Regions from separate parts of the Homo sapiens genome. Here regions 1 and 2 are each linked to region 3. Evidence: promoter capture Hi-C in human tissues and cell types (Jung and others, 2019). All regions are on one chromosome and are shown on one strand. The core of a region is centred on a gene start or on the middle of the fragment in contact, and the rest is flanking DNA. Distances in the headings are between cores, read along the strand shown.

Region 1 (4,626 bases), core at 1,327-3,826, 870 kb after region 3:
GGGCAACAGAGTGAGACTGTCACACATACACAGGGAAAAACCTCAAGGCACCATGGCACAATGGAATAATGCTCTGGTGCCAGGCACAGTGGCTCACGTCTATAATCCCAGCACTTTGGGAGGCCTAGGTGGGTGAAATCAACTGAGGTCAGGAGTTCGAGACCAGCCTGGACAACATGATGAAACCCCGTCTTTACTAAAAATACAAAAATTAGCCAGGTGGGGTGGCGGATGCCTGTAATCCCAGCTACTTGGGAGGCTGAGGCAGGAGAATCACTTGAACCCAGGAGGTGGAGGTTGCAGTGAGCCGAGATCACACCACTATACTCCAGCCTTGGCGACAGAGTGAAACTCTGTCTCAGGGAAAAAAAAAAAAGAATAATGCTCTGGGTGTGAGGGATCTGGGTTCACATCTTGGACAAATCTCTGCTGTTTCAAACTTTCAGGCTATCTCTGTGAGTGAGGAGTTGGCCTCTCTAAGCCTCACTTCCTTCCCCAGGCGGAGGCTGAGGGTGGACCCAGGCGTCGCCCCACCTGGGCCTCCTGCAGCTTGGCTTCTAGGTCGGCCATGTCCAGGTGGCGATAGCGGTACTTGTGGGCCTTGCACAGCCGGATGCCGTCGATGATGGAGGCATGGTTCAGCTCGTCCGACAGGACTGCGTCCTCTGGGGTCAGCAGGGCCTGGAGGGAGGCAGTGAGCGTAGAGCCATCATTTAACCACCCTGGGCTTCTCCCTTGACCGGGACTCCAGCAAATCAAAAAACTGTACTGCCAGCCAGGGCGCTCCTCTGGGTAGAGAGGCAAGGTGTTCTGTGCTTCTCTCTGGGGCCCCCGTGTCTCAGTGCCGGGCTGGACCAGCGCCCTGCTCTAGTAAGAGGAGGTGAGAATATATTTGGTGAGTACCAGGCCCCCGCCTCCCCCAGCCTTCCAGCTGATGTAGCTTATCCCCCAAAGGCTCTGGAACTCAGGCTCCCTGCAAGCCCCAGGATTCCTCCTGGAGCACCTACCTGGCCCAACCTTGACCTCCAGAAGCGGGCTCTGGAGCCTCTAGGCATGGCACTGAATCCTGCTAGGTTCTCCCGACTGCCCACACCCAAGCCTTCCTCAGCCTAACAGGCCCCACCAACCCTCACCCGCAGGACAGCTTCCACACACCTCAAAGAGGCCGGCGTTGGCGTCATAACAGCTGGGATAGAGGATGGCATCCTCCCGCTGGTGGAAGCGGGCTATTTTTGCTTCTAGATTCTTGTGGATGCTCTGAAGAAAATGAGTGAGACACGTGTTGATGCCTGTGGGGTCATGTGGGACAAGTTCGAGGGGACAGAGGCTTGGAGGACCACAGAGACCCAACCCAGAAAGCCTGCAGCCTCAGTCTCCTTACTTTCTGCCACACATGGGCTATCCCAGAGCTGCCAGGAATCTGACAGACAGTTCCCACTGAGGAACTGGGGACCTGTTAGGTTCCCTCCCTGGGCAGACTTTGGTTTTACAGTGGCAGTCTAATGGTGGAATTACGGGCACTCGTGGAGAAGAAAGATGTGTCTTCCTAACACCATACTGAGTGTCTTTTTTGGTCGCCTAATGGTGAAGAAAAAGATCACAGAGGTAATTCTGGGTTCACCTGGGCCTCTAATTTGTAAATTTGAAAACTGTTGGGTCTGGGTGAGGGCTTTGCTGGGAAGTGACTGGATGCGAGTCAGGAGTTCTGCCTCTGACATTCATTTCACTCTCACCTTTCTGAGAGGGCAGTTAATGATAATCACAAGTAGTCAGGAGCACAGACTCTTTCTTTTTTTTGGCAAATGAGACAGGGATTCTCTGTCACTCAGGCTGGAGTGCAGTAGTGAGACCATAGCTTACTGTAGCCTTGAACTCCTGGGCTCAAGTGATCCTCCCAACTCAGCCTCCCCTCCCTAGTAGCTGGGACTACAGGTGCGCACCACCACACCCAGCTAATTAAAAACATTTTTTTTTTTTTAGAGAGAGGGTCTTGCTATGTTGCCCAGGCTGGTCTCAAACTCCAGGCATCAAGTGATCCTTCTGCTTTGGGCTCCAAAAGTATTGGGATTACAGGTGTGAACTACCATGCCCAGCCAGCATGGACTCTTGAGCCAGGGTTCAAATCCCACAACAGGCTGTGTGCCTCTGGGCAAGTCACTTAACCTCTCTGGATCTCAGTGTCCTCATCTCAATAGCGGGAATAAGAATAGCAACTATCACTTAGGATTAATGAGTTAATACTTGTAATGTTCTTTTTTTTTTTTTTTTGAGACAGAGTTTCCCTCTGTCACCCAGGCTGGAGTGTGGTCGCACCGTCGTGGCTCACTGCAACCCCTGCCTCATGGGTTCAAGCGAGCCCGGCCAGCTAATTTTTGTATTTTTAGCACAGACAGGGTTTCACCATGTTGGCCAGGCTGGTCTTGAACTCAGTAATCCACCCACCTCGGCCTCCCAAAGTGCCTGGATTACAGGCATAAGCCACCACGCCTGGCCAATAGTTGTAATTTTCTTAAAAGAATTCCTGGCACATAATAAGTACTATTTAAGTTTCATACTTATATAAATTTATTTTGTAACATTTGGAAAATAAATAATAGCCAACATTCATTGAGCAGTACTATGTGCCAGGCTGTTCTATGCTTTTTTTTTTTTTTTTTTTTTTTGAGACAGAGTCTCACTCTGTTGCTCAGGCTGGAGTGCAGTGGCGTGATCTCAGCTCACTGCAACCTCCACCTCCTAGGTTCAAGCGATTCTCCTGCCTCAGCCTCCCAAGTGGCTGCGATTACAGGCACCCACCATCATGCCAGCTAATTTTTATATTTTTGTAGAGAAAGGGTTTCGCCATGTTGGCCAGGCTGGTCTTGAACTCCTGACCTCAGGTGATCCGCCTGCATCAGCCTCCCAAAGTGCTGGGATTACAGGCATGAGCCACTGCGCCCGGCCTATTCTAAGCATTACATGTATTAAGTCTTTAATTTGTAATGATCCTATTAAGTGCTATTATCTTCATTTTCCCTATGAAGTAATTGAGACAGAGAAAAGTTAAGATACTTGCCCACAGGAACAGGGACACTAAAGGGCAGCACTGGCAACTGTGCTCCCGTCAGAACAGCCCCAGAGCCCTTAGTCTCAGTTCCTGCCGCCTACTCCTCTTTTCTTATAGAAGGTCAGGTGTGAGGGACTCTGTTTTGCAGGTGGGAAAATGAATGCTCAAAAAGGCAGTTTCCACTTTGGAAGGCCAAGGTGGAGGAGATCACTTGAGGCCAGGAGTTCAAGACCAGCCTGGCCAACATGGTGAAACCCCATCTCTACTAAACATATAAAAATTAGGCCGAGTGCGGTGGCTCACGCCTGTAATCCCAGCACTTTGGGAGGCCAAGGTGGGTGGATCACGAGGTCAGGAGATCGAGACCATCCTGGCTAACACAGTGAAACCCCGTCTCTACTAAAAATACAAAAAATTAGCCGGGAGTGGTGGTAGGCGCCTGTAGTCCCAGCTACTCGGGAGGTTGAGGCAGGAGAATGGCGTGAACCTGGGAGGCGCAGCTTGCAGTAGCCAAGATCATGCCACCGCACTCCAGCCTCAGCGACAGAGCGAGACTCCATCTCAAAAAAAAAAAAAAAAAAAAAATTAGCTGGGTGTGGTAGCATGCCTGTAATCGCAGCTACTCAGGAGGCTGAGGCATGGAGAATCCCTTGAGTCTGGTAGGCGAAGGTTACAGGGAGCCAAGATTGTGCCACTGCACTCCAGCCTGGGTGACAGAGCAAGACTCTGTCTCAAAAAGAAAAAATATATATATAAAGTTCCTTGGCCAAAGCTTTTCAGCAAAACAGAGGCCTGCACTCAGCCTTTCTGCTGCACAGCTCTGAGGCCAACAGTAGGCCCAGGGCTGTGGCTGAGCTGAGCTGGCTAAACCAGCCTTGCTGACTGTGGGAAGCAGGCAGCTGGGGTCAGTCCCCACAACCCCCCACCACTCACTGTGTACCTGGGTTCCACAGATAAAGCGGACAGAGCTGAGGCCAGCTCCAAACTCCTCCAGAGCCTGCAGACCTGCCTGGATCACCTCAGGGTGGCTGCTCAGGCCCAGGTAGTTGTTGGCACAGAAGTTAAGGATTCCTGAGGTGAAGGAGAGGAGATGGATACAGCAGCTCAGGTGGGGCAAGGGCAGGCCTGGAAAGATGACAGTGCCAGGCCCTGGGGAAATGGTCCAGAAAGGAAACAGACCTGGAGTCACCATTGAGGAGGCACCAAATTCAACAGCTACAGAAGGAGCGTCAGTGCTACACATCTTGAAGAGCAAGAAGTTTAAACTTTTTTTTTTTTGAGACAGGGTCTAGCTCTGTCGCCCAGGTTGGAGTACAGTGGTGCAATCATGGTTCACTGTAGCCCCAACCTCCCAGGCTCAAGCAATCCTCCCACTTAACCTCCTGAGTAGCTGGGACTACAGGTGCGTGCCACCATGCCCGATTAAATTTTTTTATTTTTTGTAGAGATGGGGTCTCATTATGTTGTCCGTGCTGGTCTCGAACTCCTAGCCTCAAGCAATCCTCCTGCCTTGGCCTCCCAAAGTGCTACGATTTCAGGCACAAGCCACTGTGCCCAGCCTAAACTCTGGCTTTGAATCA
Region 2 (4,501 bases), core at 31-2,530, 650 kb after region 3:
AAGGCTGGCGAAGAAAGACAGGGCAACTAGGGAGGACAGCTCTGTGCAAAATCTCAAGATTTTGTCCACTTCCTTTTTTTTTTAATTTTCTTTTTTCTTTCTTTTTTTTTTAAGACAGGGTCTCACTCTGGGGCCCAGGCTGGAGTGCGGTATCATGATCACAACTCACTGCAGCCTCAACCTCCTGGGCTCAAAGATGGCTCACAGATGGCTGCTTTGATGTTTACAAGGAGGTGTTGCGTCACAGGTTGGGAGGTCATGAATTATGTCATGCTCCATGTGGGGGACATGAATTATGTCATGCTCCGTGTGGGGGACATGAATTATGGACGGCAGTAAGGGATTCCAGAGGCAGCTCACCAGTGGCCCACGGAGCCCTTCTCAGCTTGGCCTCCCCACCTCCCACCGTGGCCACCCCTCCTGCCCCTGCAGGCCTTCATAACTGCGCATCCAGGCAGCTTCCTTGCTGAAGCACCCTCTCCGCAGAACTCCTGCTCATTCCTCAAGACCCAGCTCGACTGTCTGTCCTCTGTGACACGTCCTGATTCCAGGCAGCATGAGGGGCGTCCGCCACCCCACGTTGGTTCCTACAGCACACTGTGTCAGTGTGGCATCATCCATCCATGTCCCCAATCAGGGTGTGGACAGGGCCTATGCCTCAAGCATCCTGGTTTCCCTGCCCCATGCCCAGTGTTGGGCCTAAGGAATAGCAGAGCTCAGTGGACTATGTGCCTGACTGTGGGCAGAGACCCCGGTCTCTCCTGGGCACACTCAGCCTCGAGGCAGCAGCTCGGCTCCTGACTGATGGATTCAGGGGCAGGTGATGGGTGTGAAGCAGTTTCCCCTGTCAGATACCCGCTGTGCATTTTTGGGAGGACCGTAACAGTGGAACTCCAGAGCTCTCCTGGGAAGATGGCTGTGGTGGAAGGTGAGAGGACACTGGCCAGTTAGAAAATGGATAAAAGCAGGCCAGGTGTGGTGCAGTGGTTCACATCTGTAACCCTGGCACTTTGGGAGGCCAAGGTGAGAGAATTGCTTGAGATCAGGAGTTCAAGACCAGCCTGGGCAACAGAGTGAGACCCTGTCTCTACAAAAAAATTAAAAATTAGCTGGGTGTGGTGGCTTGTGCCTAGGCTTCCAGCTATTTGGAAGGCTGAAGTGGGAGGATCACTTAAGCCCAGGAGGTTGAGGCTGCAGTGAGCCAAGATCGCGCCATTGTACTCCAACCTGGGCCACGGAGCAAGACCCTGTCTCAAAAAAAAAGTAAAAGAAAAAAAAGAAACTGGACAAAATCTCCAGACTTCAGACCAAAACAGAGGCCAAGACAGAGGGGACTAGAATGCTGGGGAGGGGACTACGGATGTGTTTGGAAGGAAAAATTGTCATGGCCGATGACTAGCCATAGGGGATGAAGGGGATGGATGAGTCAAAAATGACTCCGAAGCTTCATGCCTGGGTCACTGGAGAACAGTGGGGCCGTTGATGGGGCAGGGAAGCGGGGAGGGGTTGGTCTGGGGGCAGCATGGTGACGCGGGTTTGAGACATGGACTCACAGCACTTTCAGGCTGGAAGCAACCTTCGGAGGTCACCAGGGTCACACGTGAGGAAGTGGAAGCTGAGTGAGGAGCTGCCACTCAGCCGGGACACCTGTGACATCAGGCGCCTGGGACAGGGTGTTGGTGCTGGTGGGGACCTGGACAGCGGCACAGGGTGTGAAGTCCGTGCCTGCCCAGGTCCTGCACTGGGCTCTGGGGACCTGGTGGTGAATCAGACCCAGTCCCCACACTTAGGGGCTCACTGTTCCATGGAGGAGACAGACATGACTGTAATTACTACCTGGGCTAAGAGGGTGGTGTGGTGAGGACTCAGAGGGCCAAGTCTACCTTGTGGGGGGACGTGGGTAGGAGAAGTAGCCAAGGAACGAGGGCATCCTTGTTGTCAGAAGTAGGCTCCTCCGTGCCAAGAACATCTCATTTAATCCTTGCAACCATCCTGCAGGCTCTGTGGTATTACTGTCCGCATTTTACAGATGAGTTTGAAAAAGATGAAGCAGATTGTCCAGGGCCCTGCAGATGGAATGACACCCAAACTCTCGCTCTTAACCCCTGCGTCTTGGAAGAGGTGTGCTGGAGCTGAGGCCTGACAGAGTAGTAGGAGTTTCCCAAGGGACAAGGAGGGAGGGGGCGACACCGACACTTGCCAAGACCCGTCTTTCCATTGGCAGGGTCTGAAGTGCTGGTGGTCTGTAGCCTGCTTCCTTACCTCTTGCCCAGGGCCTCTCACAGCTCTTCCAGCCCTCGTCCTGTCCCAGGGCCCCTCATTTCACAGACCCTGCCTTTCCCACCCCCTACTGGTGACAGCCGACTGATCTGATGGATTTGTCCAGCAACTGAGCTGGGGGTGGGGTGGGAGAGGGCCTGTTCCTGATCCCCGGGGAACCACTGACCACGCTCCCCAGGCCTTCCCAGCACAACCCTGCCCCCACCCACACCTCCCCACTGCATGACCTCTTCTTATCCCGGGAGTGACCCTGCAAAGCAAGTCATCCCAGAGAAGTGAGGATGTGCCTGAATCACCCAGTGCATAAGCAGCTGAGCTAAGTCTCAGACCCACAGGCCTGGGGTCTCAGACCATGGCGGTCCCCTGGGCTTGGACAAACCACAGAGTACTTTTCTATCCTCGGGCTCCGGTTTGCAGGGCACCATGGGAATGATCGGGGAGAAGGAGGGTTGAGCACTAGCAGTCTTGGGCAAATACAGTTTATAACCCAGGGTGTGGCAGTGCGCTGGAGTCAGCGCACACTGGCTCCCGAGAGCCAACTGTGAAAGTCTCTGGAATCGAAGCCAGTTGATATTACCTTGGAAGCTTTGAGCCTGCCCTGATGGGACTTTTTCCACTATGAAAATTGGCAGTCTACCTCTGTGTCTCCCACCTCCACAAACAGAGCTGGTTGTGAAGCATATTTACCAGCACATGACTGTCCAGAGGGCCCGACTCCTGGCTCCCCAGGGGGCTTGTGGGTTCTCTCAAGCTCCCAGCCCTATCTGGGGATCTTCGGGGAGTCGTTCTTGCTCAAAATCCATTGATATCTCCCACTTGCCACCAATAAAAGTCCAGACTCCTCCCCTGGGTTTTCCATCCCCAGCTTCAGGCCCAGGCAATCTTCCCAGCTGCATCTTAACTGTTCCCTTGCTGCCCCCACGCTTGAGCCAAACAAGAACAGATGATGCTTGTGGAAAAGGCCCTTGCTTCCTTAGTTTCCTGCTGCTGCAACAGCCTCACCTTGGCTCACGCTATTCCCTTTTCCCAAAATGCCTTTCCCCTAACTCTGCCTCTTGAAATCATCTCCAGCCTGCAAGGCTCATTCACAATTGGTGTTCAATCAATGTTTCTTGGCTGAATGGGAGGGAGCGTGGACGAAGGCTCCACAACCAGGACTGACCTGATGGTGCCTTGGTGAAGGCTAAGACCCTGGGAAACCCTGCATCCAATCCTCTGCCTCAGGACAGAGACACCCCAAAATCCCCTGCCTTCCCTAGCTTGCTTGCAGTCTCCCAGATGATGGGGTGTTAATGGAGGACAGACTGGTCACTGCTTCACAGGTAGCAAAAACAGAAACCAACTTGAACCATCCAGGTTACCTGGAAACCAATCCCTTCATTCTGTGGTCAGTCTCAAACTCCTCTGCATCCTTCAAAACCCATCCCAGGTGCTGCCTCCATTGAGAGGTCTTGCCAGTTAGAAGTCCTCCATTACCCCCTTGCCCCTGTGCCCTGCACACACTGATCATTGCACTCATGGCACAGGGTAGTGCTTATCTGTCTGTCCATCACCCCACTAGACCATAGCCAGAGGAGACAGAGCCTTATTTAAGGCTTTATCCTCAGGCTGGTGCCCAACAAGCTTAGGAGGTGCTTGTTGAACTAACTTGAAATGACTCCATCACTGTCAGCCAAGTCATCCTCCACTATCCTTGGGCCTCAGTTTTCCCCTCTGGATAAGCCAGACTTAGACGGGGTCATTTCCAAAGACATTCTGCATCTCCTATTCTGGGATTCTGTGATATGCCCCACTCCTTATCCATCTCTAATCTTCAAGTCTCCTTCCCTAAGCTGCAAGCCTTCCAGTGGGTGACGCCCCTTCCTCGGCTGCCTTCACCAGCACCACCTCACCCTGCAGACCACAGCAGTCTCTCCTCAGACCCCTGAACTCCCTTTTTCAGGGTGTTCTCTTCTCTCAGACTGTGGACTCCTCTGAAACCCTTTCAGAAGCCTCTCCTGCCCACTCCAGGCCTGGCTCACCAGCCAAGTGCACAGTCAGCACCCATAAGTGCCCATCAATGAGCTGTGATGGAGTGGCCGGGGCTTGCAGGGCCTTTGGAGAGCTGGCAGAGTTCCTGTTCAGACAGGCCTGGGAGCTGCCTGCCTATCACAGTGCGGGTGGAGGGTCCCCTAAAGCCCCCAGGACAAACAGCCACATCCCATTCTCTGCCTATTTCACT
Region 3 (4,394 bases), core at 735-3,234:
TGCCAAAGTTAAAAAAAAAAAAAAATCCAAATTATCAGCAGTTCAAACACTTGAATTTCAAACTTATCCCACTGAGACAGCTCAAACAGCAATAACAATCTAGATCTTTCCAGGAAGTGAGGGTAGAGCCCCTGGCATTCCTCCTGAGAGCCCTGTGTTAGGTCCTAGAAGTATCTGGAAAAGAAAAGGAGGGGTGTAAGGCATCATACAGGCCTAGAGAGCTTATTCTCACCATACCTGATGGGGCCAACGTCTACAAAAATAATACTGAAAGCACAGTCAGACAACTAAAAGAGCATGGGCCCGATCCCAATCCCCACCCACACATTAACTGTTGGTCAACTCAGGTGCTACAACAGGAGCCCTCAACCCCTGGGCTGTGGACTGGCACTGGCCCATGGCCTGTTAGGAGCTGAGCCACACAGCAGTAGATCAGCAGCAGGCAAGTGAGAGAAGCTTCATCTGTGTTTACTGCTGTTCACCATCGCTCACATTACTGCCTGAGCTCCACCTCCTGTCAGATCAGCAGCAGTGTTAGATTCTCATAGGAACACAAACCCTTGTGAACAGTGCATGCGAGGGATCTAGGTTGCAAGCTCCTTATGAAAATCTAATGCCTGATGATCTGTCACTGTCTCCCATCACCCCCAGACAGGACTGTCTAGTTGCAGGAAAACAAGCTCAGGGCTCCCACTCATTCTACGTTATAGAATTATTTCATTATATATTACAATGTAATAATAGAAATTCAGTGCACAATAAATGTAATGCACTTGAATCATCCAGAACCCCCCCCCCGACCCCCGGCCACCCCCAACCCACCATCCATGTAAAAACTGTGTTCCATGAAACCAGTCCCTGGTGCCAAAAAGGTTGGGGACCAATGTGTTAGTGAAATAACTTGCGTCTCCACCACTGGCAAAAAGCCCAAGGTCTGGGCTCACCTGCCGCTGCTGCAGTTGCTGCTGTTGCTCCATTTGCAACTTCTCCGTCTCAAAGACAACGGGAAGAACCAGGATCATAAAGGAAGTGGTCCCAATCCACAAGGCTGCCCTGGAAAACCTGCAGAGGAAAATCCCCAGAGGGTGAGCATGAAGACATGCAAACAAAACAGGCAAGAACTACCCAGTAACCAAACCTCTCACATTACATACTCCAATGTTTTTGATAAACGTATTCTACCCGCTCCTTACACCATACTCCTACCAGAGACAGGAGGAGCAGCTATGGTAGCTGTATCATCTAGTGATGGCGGTTTAACATTCTCCTGAGTTCTTACAAAGCTCCTTATTCATTAATTATCTCCAACAATCTGAAATAACCCCCACAACTCCCCTGCCAGGTAAGAATCCCCATTTTACAGAAGAGGAAACTAAGAAAGGATAGGGTACAAGCCCAAGGTCACCCAACACGGGTCTGCTGCTTCCAAACCCCGTGTTCTTTCACAGCACCACGACCATCCCATGCACGTACCCAGTGCCTTTGCCCTCGTTCCTTACCTGTACATTTTCTGAGCCACAAAGAGGGAAAGATCAAAAGTGGCTCCGGCCGCGGACCGGACCCTCTCCGGAAACATCTCCGTCAGGCCCCATAGTCTCTCCGACAGGGTCTCATCTAGCTGTGGTGGAGTAGACGCGGGTCTTAGCCGAAAAAGCGACATCCATTCCTGGCCCCGCTGCGGCACTGGGAGCCGCCGAGCCCCACTGGAGCTAGGGCACCCAGGGCCCAGCAGGGCCCCTAACCCCGCCTCCCAAAGCAGCCGCTTCGCTCCGATCCCGTACCACGCGGATCCCACACCCACGAGCGGGCCCGCTTCCCGCTCTGCACCCCGCGAGGCCCTAGTACCTCCTCATCGTCGTCCTCCTCCAGCTCCTCCTCAGGCTTCTCCGCGTCGCCTTTCGGGAGCAATTCGTCCGGGGACTGGGGTTCCCCTGCACCGGCAGCAGCGACGGCGGCAGCCATGACTGTAGGGGACACCGGAAGCGGAAAGGAGGTGAGCGCAGCCGAACGGCGGACAGAGCTGCTTTTCCGGGAGCCGAGGCGCGAGCCGGGCGAGAGCGGCGCCCTCTAGCCCCGGGTCCTCCAGTGCCCGCAGCGGGTCCGGCAGCCCTGGCCTTATCCGGGCGTCGGGGCTTCGGCGGGCATTAGCAGCAGCTGAGAGGCCTGTGAGAGGTTCTGGGGCGCCACCGCAGTCATTCTGTTCAGCGGGTATAGGGTGAGCTCAGAAACTTGCTTGTTTTTCTTTTTTTCAAATGCGTTGTTTTAATTCCAGGTAATAGAGTTCAGGGGAGAACAAAGATCAAAGGGCTGACTCTGGCAAGATTCTGGGGGCTTGTTTTACTTTAAGTTCACAGCTAAGGTAGGAGTGGCTGAGTGAAAACAACTCAAGAGATGATGAGCCACTGTATTTTTTTTTTTAACAAAAGTTTATTCTTAAATTTACAACAGGCTCCAAGACAACACTTTATTCGAGCATAGGTGGCCAAAGATGTGGCCGGGAATAGAGATGTTTAAAGACGAATGGAGTCAGGCCCACCATCACCGCAGGCCCAAGGGACAGTGGAACAGGTCGCTTTTTGTAAGATTTTAGCTTTTTGTTGTTGTTGTTGTTGTTGGTTTTGTTTTGAGACGGAGTCTCGCTCTGTCGCCCAGACTGGATGGAGTGCAGTGGTGTGATCCCGGCTCACTGCAAGCTCCGCCTCCCAGGTTCAAGCGATTCTCCTGCCTCAGCATGCACCACCAACCACGCCCCGCTAATTTTTTGTATTTTTAGTAGAGACGGGGTTTCACCATTTGGCTAGGCTGGTTTTGAACTCCTGACCTCAAGTGATCTGCCCGCCTCGGCCTCCCAAAGTGCTGGCATTACAGGCATCAGCCACCGCACCTGGCCTATATATAGTTATATATTATATATAATATATATTTTATGTGTGTGTATATATATACGTATATATGTATATATATGTATATATGTGTATATATGTATATATGTGTATATAGGTATGTGTATATATGTATATATATACATACGTATACATATATACGTATTATGTATATATACATACACACATATACACACACACACACACACACACATACATATATATATAAAGACAGGGTTTCACTGTGTTGCCTAGGCTGGTCTTGAACTCCGAGACTCAAGCAATCCGACTGCCTCAGCCTCCCCAAGTCCTAGGATTACAGGCCTATGCCACTGCGCCCCACCTTGCCGGATTTCTTAATTCGGCCTGTGACCAGGGCCAAAGATTTATCTTCCTTGTCCATCTCCTTGGCCTGCTTCTTGGGCTGTTTTAGAGAGACACTGATCCAGTTTCGTTTTCCTGAGCCATGTTTTACTTGGTAGGAATAAATTAGTGTCTTGCAGGTCTTTTGGGAAAACATCAGGTAAATCTTCCCTATGTACCAAACAAAGGTAAGAGTTAACACCTAAATACCAGGTGCTCTGGTGCCTGTGGGTGTGGGTGGGTGCGGTGTGTCCTCCTTTAATCTTCACAGCAGCTCACTGGGGTAGGCACTGTTATCCCCATTTTAGAAATGAGGAAACTGAGGCATAGTACATAGATTTCTAGTAAGTAGGTGAGCTGGTCAGAAAGTATGCAGATATAAATTTTTGTTTGAGTTTGTGTGTTTGTTTTTGAGATGGAGTCTTGCTCTGTCGCCCAGGCTGGAGTGCAGTGGCATGATCTCAGCTCACTGCAACCTCCTGGGCTCAAGCGATTCTCCCGCCTCAGCCTCCCAAGTAGCTGGGACTACAGGTGTGTGCCACCATGCCTGGCTAACTTTTTGTATTTTTAGTAGAGATGGGATTTCACCATGTCGGCCAGGCTGGTCTAAAACTCGTGACCTCAGGTGATCCACCCGCCTTGGCTTCCCAAAGTGCTGGGATTACAGGTATGAGCCACTGCTCCCAGCCTCTATCAGATGCTTTCATAATAGTACAGTAAATGGAAATGTCCTTGTCCCACACCCTCCCCAGCATTAGGTGTTATCCATCTTTTTACTTTTTGCCTATATGATGGATGTAAGTGCTTCTTTTTAAAATGTGCCCCATGTTATTAAACAGGGTAATTTGATAAACACCTTTAGCCAACTGAACCTGGAATCAGAGACTCCCAGGATGGGAGAGTCCAAATCCTTCTGTGATGCATGAGGATGCAGTAATGAGCATTTGTCCTGTGTCTCACACTCCTTCCGATACAGTCCCCAGGCCTCCCTTTCATCTTTGGACAGGGCATCTCTATCAGACACTTTTTTGTGTTTGTTTGTTTGTTTTTTGTGATGGAGGCTGGAGTGCAGTGGCGCAATCTCGGCTCACTGCAACCTCTGCCTCCCGAGTTCAAGTGATTCTCCTGCCTCAGTCTCCTGAGTAGCTG

What was found. Contacts are between HindIII fragments. The study calls those that stand out against the background at their distance.
Region 1: a contact is called between a fragment that was not itself captured here and the fragment with the promoter of TOMM22 in region 3, in 1 of the 25 tissues and cell types used here (stomach).
Region 2: a fragment that was not itself captured here is called in contact with the fragment with the promoter of TOMM22 in region 3 in 1 of the 25 tissues and cell types used here (dorsolateral prefrontal cortex).

What each region holds. Positions count from the first base shown.
Region 1 is chr22:37,809,518-37,814,143 of GRCh38, reverse strand. It overlaps GCAT (glycine C-acetyltransferase), which reads right to left. Exons shown (of 9, transcript NM_014291.4): 2 at 3,987-4,117; 3 at 1,156-1,257; 4 at 535-681. Among named protein-coding and RNA genes, the nearest start is that of GCAT, 3.9 kb to the right of the region's middle. The HindIII fragment of the contact is 3,636 bases long and covers 759-4,394 here.
Region 2 is chr22:38,028,769-38,033,269 of GRCh38, reverse strand. POLR2F-AS1 (POLR2F antisense RNA 1) reads left to right here. Exons shown (of 2, transcript NR_199596.1): 2 at 115-1,098. It also overlaps a transcript of POLR2F not described here. Among named protein-coding and RNA genes, the nearest start is that of POLR2F-AS1, 3.2 kb to the left of the region's middle. RefSeq lists enhancers at 1-37, 1,049-2,248, 4,343-4,501. The HindIII fragment of the contact is 4,209 bases long and covers 1-3,384 here.
Region 3 is chr22:38,679,547-38,683,940 of GRCh38, reverse strand. It overlaps TOMM22 (translocase of outer mitochondrial membrane 22), which reads right to left and starts at 1,984. Exons shown (of 4, transcript NM_020243.5): 1 at 1,846-1,984; 2 at 1,500-1,618; 3 at 945-1,062; 4 at 1-174. The coding sequence starts at 1,962. The coding sequence ends at 100. It overlaps TOMM22-DT (TOMM22 divergent transcript), which reads left to right and starts at 2,085. Exons shown (of 2, transcript XR_007068097.1): 1 at 2,085-2,215. RefSeq lists silencers at 1,641-1,690, 2,081-2,150 and enhancers at 1,881-1,950, 997-2,196. The HindIII fragment of the contact is 12,362 bases long and covers 1-4,394 here.